2 separate regions of the Homo sapiens genome follow, and region 2 is linked to region 1. The links are contacts of gene promoters, found by promoter capture Hi-C in blood cells and fetal thymus (Javierre and others, 2016). All regions are on one chromosome and are shown on one strand. The core of a region is centred on a gene start or on the middle of the fragment in contact, and the rest is flanking DNA. Distances in the headings are between cores, read along the strand shown.

Evidence for each region. The method cuts DNA at HindIII sites, captures the fragments that hold promoters and counts their contacts. A CHiCAGO score of 5 or more calls a contact.
Region 2: a contact is called between a fragment that was not itself captured here and the fragment with the promoter of SEC62 in region 1, in 1 of 17 cell types (fetal thymus). The highest score is 5.5, in fetal thymus.

Annotation. Positions count from the first base shown.
Region 1 is chr3:169,965,044-169,968,770 of GRCh38, forward strand. It overlaps SEC62 (SEC62 preprotein translocation factor), which reads left to right and starts at 1,764. Exons shown (of 8, transcript NM_003262.4): 1 at 1,764-1,815. The coding sequence starts at 1,780. It also overlaps the pseudogene FHL1P1. RefSeq lists enhancers at 1,443-1,882, 3,439-3,727. The HindIII fragment of the contact is 8,040 bases long and covers 1-2,424 here.
Region 2 is chr3:170,275,561-170,279,287 of GRCh38, forward strand. The region is part of intron 8 of PRKCI (protein kinase C iota); the gene reads left to right. Among named protein-coding and RNA genes, the nearest start is that of PRKCI, 55 kb to the left of the region's middle. The HindIII fragment of the contact is 3,036 bases long and covers 187-3,222 here.

The DNA.
Region 1 (3,727 bases), core at 514-3,013:
TATAGACCAGGTCTCCTATAAAATAGTCCAGTGTTTATGTCCACATAAAACAGCACAAAACAGATTCATCATTCTGGGTGGGTAGAGGGATTGAAGGAAATAAAGACATTTCATATTCTATATTATGTTTTGGGTTAATTGGCAAGAATAATTACTTCTTTCTCACCCCATCCCTGACTATACACACACCCAAATTATAGATTATAGAGGAGAAAGGAATTAAATGACTCCTGAGACCAGAACTGCATAGTCCAAAAAAAAAAAAAAAATTCAGCAATCTTACTTTATTAAAAAATTAGGCATCAAGATGCTGCAATTTGCCTTACTTACATATTTAATTGCTCTTAGGTTAGATATATAATATGGGAAACCTGGAAAAAAATTTTAATGGTATAATAAACGCTTACAACCTAACATTAAGTGAAAAAAGCAGCTGCCTTATTGCATATGATCTCAATTTGGGAAACAGGAAAAAATATAAATACAAACACACATGCACACACACACACAAAGTCAGAATACTATAAGAAAATAAACTGAACGGTCACAGTGGCTCACGCCTGTAGTTCCAGTTACTCAGGAGACAGAGACAGGTGGATCGTTTTGAGCCCAGGAGTTCAAGACCCGCCCGGGCAACATAAGGAAACTCCATCTCCACACAAAAAAAGTAAAAATTAGCCAGGTGTGGTGGCTCATGCCTGTAGTTCCAGCTACTCAGGAGGCTGAGGAGGGAGATCAGTTGAGACGAGGAGTTCGGTGATGCAGTGAGCCGAGACTGCGCCACTGCACTCCAGCTTGGGCAATATAGAGCGAAACTCAGCATCAAAAAAAAAAGAACATCTTTCTATTCTGAATTTTCCCAATTTTCTACAATTAAAAACGCTTTAAAGATCTCTATAAAGTCAGTCAAGGGAATTTCTATCTAAGCACTTACCAGCAATTTGAGCTCCTTCTCTTTTGGTCTAGGTGGCTCTAAAATAACAATAAAGGCTACAGTGATTGAAATTCACCAGACTTGAAATAGACTGCAGCCTTCTTCCTTCCCACCTTCTTAGAATCTTTGTCCTATTCATCTTCCTTACGCTTCCCCGGGTTCTCTTACTTCTGGATTCTAACAGTGAGTTGTGAGAAGCAACGCGGAAAACGGAATGGAGACTCCAGCTTGTTTTAAACGAGCTGTATTACCCCGCACAGTGCAGGAGAAAAGATAATTGGCTCAGGTCTCGGCTCTGCCATCTACCACCTGTGGAGCCTTAGATAAGTCAGTTCTTATCTCTGTCACTCAACGGTCTCGGTCTTGTCATCTTTTACATGGAATGTCATGAAATATACAGTACATTGCAGGAACTGCCTCAGGTAAAGACTTCTAGGGTTCAGTAGGTCTCAGTCGATCCCTCTGAGAAAGGCCGCACCCTAAATGCACAGACTCTGACTCTAAGGGGATGGGGTCGGGGAATCTGCATTTTAGTAGCTTCTCAGGTGATTCAGATGCTCAGTCAGGATTGAGAAACCAGGACTCTTCCCAGCCCTCCTGTTCTCTGATCCACTTCTCTGCTTCCTCCACGTCCTAACGATTCTCCAGTTCCCGCACAGCAGGAGCGGAGGGAAGAGGGGAGAGAAGGCACCGCTAAGGACCGCTGGCCCCGCCAGGCGGCCGACCTCCCCATTCCAGGGGCGCCAGCCGGCGGATTACATAACGGGCCTCGGGGCGCGTTCTCGCGAGGTTTCCACCGCCCCCTCCTCGCTCCACGTCAGAGGGAACCGGGCGGAGCGGCCAACATGGCGGAACGCAGGAGACACAAGAAGCGGATCCAGGTAGCAAAGCCGAGCTCTGGGCAGGGGGCTTCGGCGCGCTGGATAGTGGAAGGGGCGGGGAAAGCCCCCTAAAAGGGCGAGCGAAAGCAAGGGCGAGGTGGGGTGGGGTGGGGTGGGGTTCCGCCGCGAGGCAGCTGGCTGCAGGCTGCGCGTTGTGAGGGGCCTGAGGGGGGGCGGTGTTGGCGACGGCGGAGACAGAGACGGAGGTGGTGGTGGAGCAGCAGGGGAAGGAAGGAGGCGCCGCGCTCAGAATCCGGCTGCGGAGGCGCGGCTGTGGGCCTGGAGTTCCTGTGGTCGCGCTGTCCCGGGCCTGAGCTGGAAGGTCAGCCTCCCCTGGGGCGCAGACGCTGACCCTTCCCGGGGCTCCTCCCCTCCCTTCACCCCATCCTCTGGCCTTAGCTGGCCTGAAATTAAGGCCACGGTAATAGGGGTAGCAGGAGGCGGCGGACTGACCTAAAGCAGCTGGTTCTTTGTGCGCATAGACCGTAAGGGGGAATGATCTGGACTTGGTCAGCTGCCTCGGGGCCTAGGCAGGGATCTGCTCATCCAGATGTTCAGTTGCGTTGCCCTTCTTTCCCTTCAATATTATTAACTTAATAGTCCACTTGAAGCTTGCCGGCTTTTTTCCGGGCGACGTGGTGTAAACAACCACAACCTCGTTGGTGCTGCAACGAGCTGGTGGAGCCCAGAAACCTTTCACATGCCAGTGTGTCATCCTCGTAGTAACGTACATAACATCTCCCCCTAATTCCACATGCGTGTCATTTGTGCATTTCTTCCTTGCGATTTTCCCTGGTTCTTGTTCTTTGCCAAGAGGATTAATTATGTAGAACATCTTGGACTCAGGATATTTATTAGTCGTCTCATCAGCTGATGTGCTGAGAAACCTTCATAAGCCCTCAAATTGATCACATGTAGTAAATTGTTACTATAATCATAAATTGTTACATTCATCATTGCCTTTCTGTTCCTTACTATTTCATTGCTTAGAATGATTTTTTCTTTCTTCCATTTTATCCCTTCTTTTTTTTTTTAAGTTTATCGATTTATTGGCGTACAATACAGATGTTTTGAGCTATGCAAGTTAAAATTCTTCTGTAAACTTTTTAAGTGCTGTGAAAAAGACACACATGATCAGTAAATTTGGAATTTTGGAATTTGGCAGAAATAAAGTAGTTCCGAACAGGGTGCAGAAGGGAATTAGAAAGAGGCAGATTTCGAGTTCAGACAGATAAGACTAGGTCTTAAGATCAGTAGAAGTTTCTAATTATACTGTTCTTAATCTTTCAAGAGTTAGTGTTATTCCTCTGACGTGGGTATACAGTATTTTATTAGATTGTATATTGAAATTGTCTGTCAGATTTGTACTTACAGAACTCCTTAGATTTACACTTGACAGTACAATTTTATGCCCTTCAATACACATTGTTTTACAATTCCAGTTGCTCTTTAATATTGTTGTAAGGGCTATATAATTCACCTTTTGAATAGCTGCTCTTATTTAGTTGTGATCTTATATTAAACAGAGGCTGTGGAGTAATGTGACAGTGGCAGAGAGCTAAAACTTGAGCCAAACTGCCTGTTTGTACCCCACCTCCACCAATTATTGGCTGAGTAACTTTGAGCAAGTTAATTTTTACCTCCCTGTCTGCATCGGTAAGAAAACATATTTACCTCAAAAAAAAAAAAAGCAAGAAAAAAGAAAAACTTTAAGATTGCTGTGAAAATAATAGGTGAGTCAACTTATTTATTAAAAGTTATTAAAAGTGTTTGGCACGCAGCCCCTCCCTTCTATTCTACTCCTTACCCAGGATGAAGGATTTAGATTGGATTGTTATTTTATTTTTTGTTAACTACTCTTTGATATGCTGAAGAAAGATTAACAACCCTCTATTCAGTAAACTATTAGGTT
Region 2 (3,727 bases), core at 455-2,954, 310 kb after region 1:
TGGTAGTATTGTTTAAAATATATAGTAGACCCTTCCGTTTTGTGCCTGAATTGCTTATTTAGACAATAAATGATTAAACATATTAACTGTCATTGTTTTTTTGACTATTAAGTATTTTATCAGTTTTTAAAACAAAACAAATAATTAAAATGATTTGATTAAAATAATAATCAGTTTTTTGAAAAAAGCTTATAGTGAAAAAGATAATCATGTCTCCCACCTTCCACTCCCAGTTTGGCTTCTTGGCAACCTTTTAAACCATTTCTAGTTATGTCCATAATATTTATATTTCTGTTTTTCAATTTTTTATTTTTGTGTATTTCTGGACATGAAAGATTTAGTTCACACTGCCTCCTCTCTTTCCCGTATCATTCTTTTTTTTTTTTTTTTTGAGTTGGGGTCTTGCTGTGTTGCCCAGGCTGGAGTGCAGTGGTGTGATTATGGCTCACTGCAACCTTAAACTCCTGGGCTCAAGTTATCTTCCCACCTTAGCCTCCCGAGTAGCTAGGACTATAGCCCTGTGCCACCACACCCAGCTAATTTTTTCATTTTCTATTTTGTAGAGACAGAGTCTCACTATGTTGCCCAAGCTAGTCCCGAACTCCTGGCCTCAAGCAGTTCTCCCAAATCAGCCTCTCTAAGTGTTAGGATTACAGGCATGAGCCACCATGCCCAGCCAAAACTTTGAAACATAAATAAAAGTAAACAATAATATAACAAAGCCCTTGTATCTATTGTTAGTTAAAACAGCTATCAATTCATGTCTAGCCTTATTTTGTCTACTCACTTCCCTCACTCCTGTATTATTTTGAAGAAACCTGTTAGTCACCTATTTGATGTTATGTTTTAGTTTCTTGTTCTGTTTGTCTGAAAAAGTCTTTTTTTCTTTTTAACTTTTTTTTTTCTTTTTATTTTTTTTGTGAGACAGGATTATTGCACAGGCACCCGTGCAGTGGTGCAATGATGGCTCACTACAGCCTCAACTTCTTGAGTTCAAGCCACCTCAGCCTCTCAGGTAGCTGGGACTACAGGCATGTGTCACCACTGGACCCTCATCACAATATACAAAAATTTACTCAAGGTGGAATAAAGATTTAAATGTAATACCTCAAACTATAAAAATCCTAGAAGAAAACCTAGGAAATATCCTCTCGACATTGGCCCCGGCAAAGAATTTTTGGCTAAGTCTCCGAAAACAATTGCAACAAAGCCAAAAATTGACAAGTGGGACCTAATTAAACTACAGAGCTTCCACGCAGCAAAAGAATCCACCAATAAACAGACAACCTAAAGAATGGGAGAAAATAGTCACAAACTATACATCCAACAAAGATCTCATATCCAGAATTTATAAGGAACTTAACAGCAAAAAACAACCCCATTAAAAAATGAGCAAAGGGCTGGGCATGGTGGCTTACACCAGTAATCCCAGCACTTTGGGAGGCAGAGTCAGGCAGATCACTTGAGGCCAGGAGTTTGAGATCAGCCTGGCTGACATAGTGAAACCCCATGTCTACTAAAAATACAAAAAAAAAAAAAAAATTAGGGCGTGGTGGCACACACCTATAATACTAGCTACTTAAGAGGTTGAGGCACGAAAATCATTGGAACTGGGGAGGCGGAGATTACAATGAGCCAAGATCATGCCACTGCACTCCAGCCTGGGCGACAGAGCAAGACACTGTTTAAAAAAAGAAAAAAAAAAGGGCAAAGGACATGAACAGACATATCTCAAAATAAGACCTATAAGCAGCCAACACACATGAAAAACCACTCATCGTCACTAATTATCAGAGAAATAGAAATCAAAACCACAGTGAGATACCATCTCACACCAGTCAGAATAGCTGTTACTAAAAAATCAACTTGGGCGTGATGGCTCACACATGTAATCCCAGCACTTTGAGAGGCTAAGGCGGAAGGATTGAGCCTGAGAGTTCAAGAGCAGCCTAGGCAACATAGTCTCTACTAAAAATACAAAAAATTAGCCAGGCTCGGTGGCAGGCGCCTGTAGTCCCAGCTGCTCGGGAGGCTGAGGCAGGAGAATGGTGTGAACCCAGGAGGCGGAGCTTGCAGTGAGCAGAGACTGTACCAGTGCACTCCAGCCTGGGCGAAAGAGCGAGACTCCGTCTCAAAAAAAAAAAAAAAAGAAAATTACAAATAACACTTTTACTGTTTCTCTAGAAGATGCAGTGACCTTGGCACACCTTAAATTCATTCCTTTTCCATTCCTGCCTTTGGGTGTTATTATTATCAGAGTTTAAAATTCTGTGTGTGTGTATATTTGTTTTTTTAAACAGTTACTCCTTATGTAGATTTACCCACATTTTACCCTTTTTGTTTTTCTTTCCTTCCTACGTCTGTTCCTCCATCTGAGATCATGCATTTTCTCCTTCAAGAACTCAATTTAGTTTTTCCTTTAGTGAGCACCTAGTAGTGATGGATCCACTCAGTTTTTCTTTGTCTGAAAATGTTTTTCTTTCACTTTCACTTTGTGAGCTACTTTTGCAGGATAGAGAATTCTAGGTCAGCTGTTTTCTTCTTTTTTAGGCCCTTTGAAGATGACATTTCACTGTTAAGTGGCGTCTATCATTTCATTCAGCCTTATTATTGTGTCGGTGAAGTTAACTCTATCTTTTTTGCTCCACTTGATTCTCTCTTATAGTTTCCAGTTAGCCATATTTCAAGTCTATGTGTTGACTTACTTTCTTACACTTCTCTTCTTTCTTAACCTTCTCAAACCTGGTTTCTTTTCACTCTGCTGTATTTACCCTTGTGTGTTAGTCTGTTTTGTGTTGTTACAAAGGAATACCTGAAGGTTGGGTGTGGCAGCTCACACCTATAATCCTAGGACTTTAGACCGGGAGGATCATTTGAGGCCAGTAGTTCAGGACCAGCCTTGGCAACATAGCAAGACCCTCCATGTCTACAAAAAATAAATAAAAATTAGCCGGGTTTGGAGGCACATGCCTGTAGCCCCAGCTACTTGGGAGACTGAGGCAGGAGGATCACTTGAGCCCAGGAGTTCATGGCTGCAGTGAGCTATGTTCGTGCCACTGCACTGCAGCCTGGGTGACAGAACAAGACCTTTTCTTAAATAAATAAATAAATGAAGGAAGGAATAAAGGAATACCTAAGGCTGGGTAATTTATACAAGATTTATTTGGTGCACGGTTCTGCAGGCTGATCAGTAAGTATTGCACTAGCATCTGCTTCTCAGGAAGCTTTCAGTCTTGGCAGAAGGCAAAGGGGAAGCAGGTGTGCCACATGGCAAGAGAGGGAGCAAGGGAGTCAGGGGAGGTGCCACACTCTGAACTCACTCATTACACAGGAACACACCAAGCCATTCATGAGGAATCTGTCCCTGTGACCCAAACACCTCCCACTAGGGATCACATTTCAGCATGAGATTTGAGATTTGGAGGGGTCAGATATACAAACTATCACCTTGTTACCAAATCAAATTATTATTATTATTACTATTATTGACAGGGTCTCACTTTGTGATGCAGGCTGGAGCGCACTGGCACAATCACAGCTCACTGCAACCTTGACCTGCCTGGCTCAGGTGATCCTCCCACCTCAGCCTCCCAGGTAGCTGGGACTACAGTGCACACCACCAACATCCGGCTAATTTTTGTATATTTTGGTAGAGATGAGGTTTCTTGGCACATTGCCCAGGCTGGTCTTGAACTCCTGGGCTCAATCAGTCCACCTGCTTCAGCCT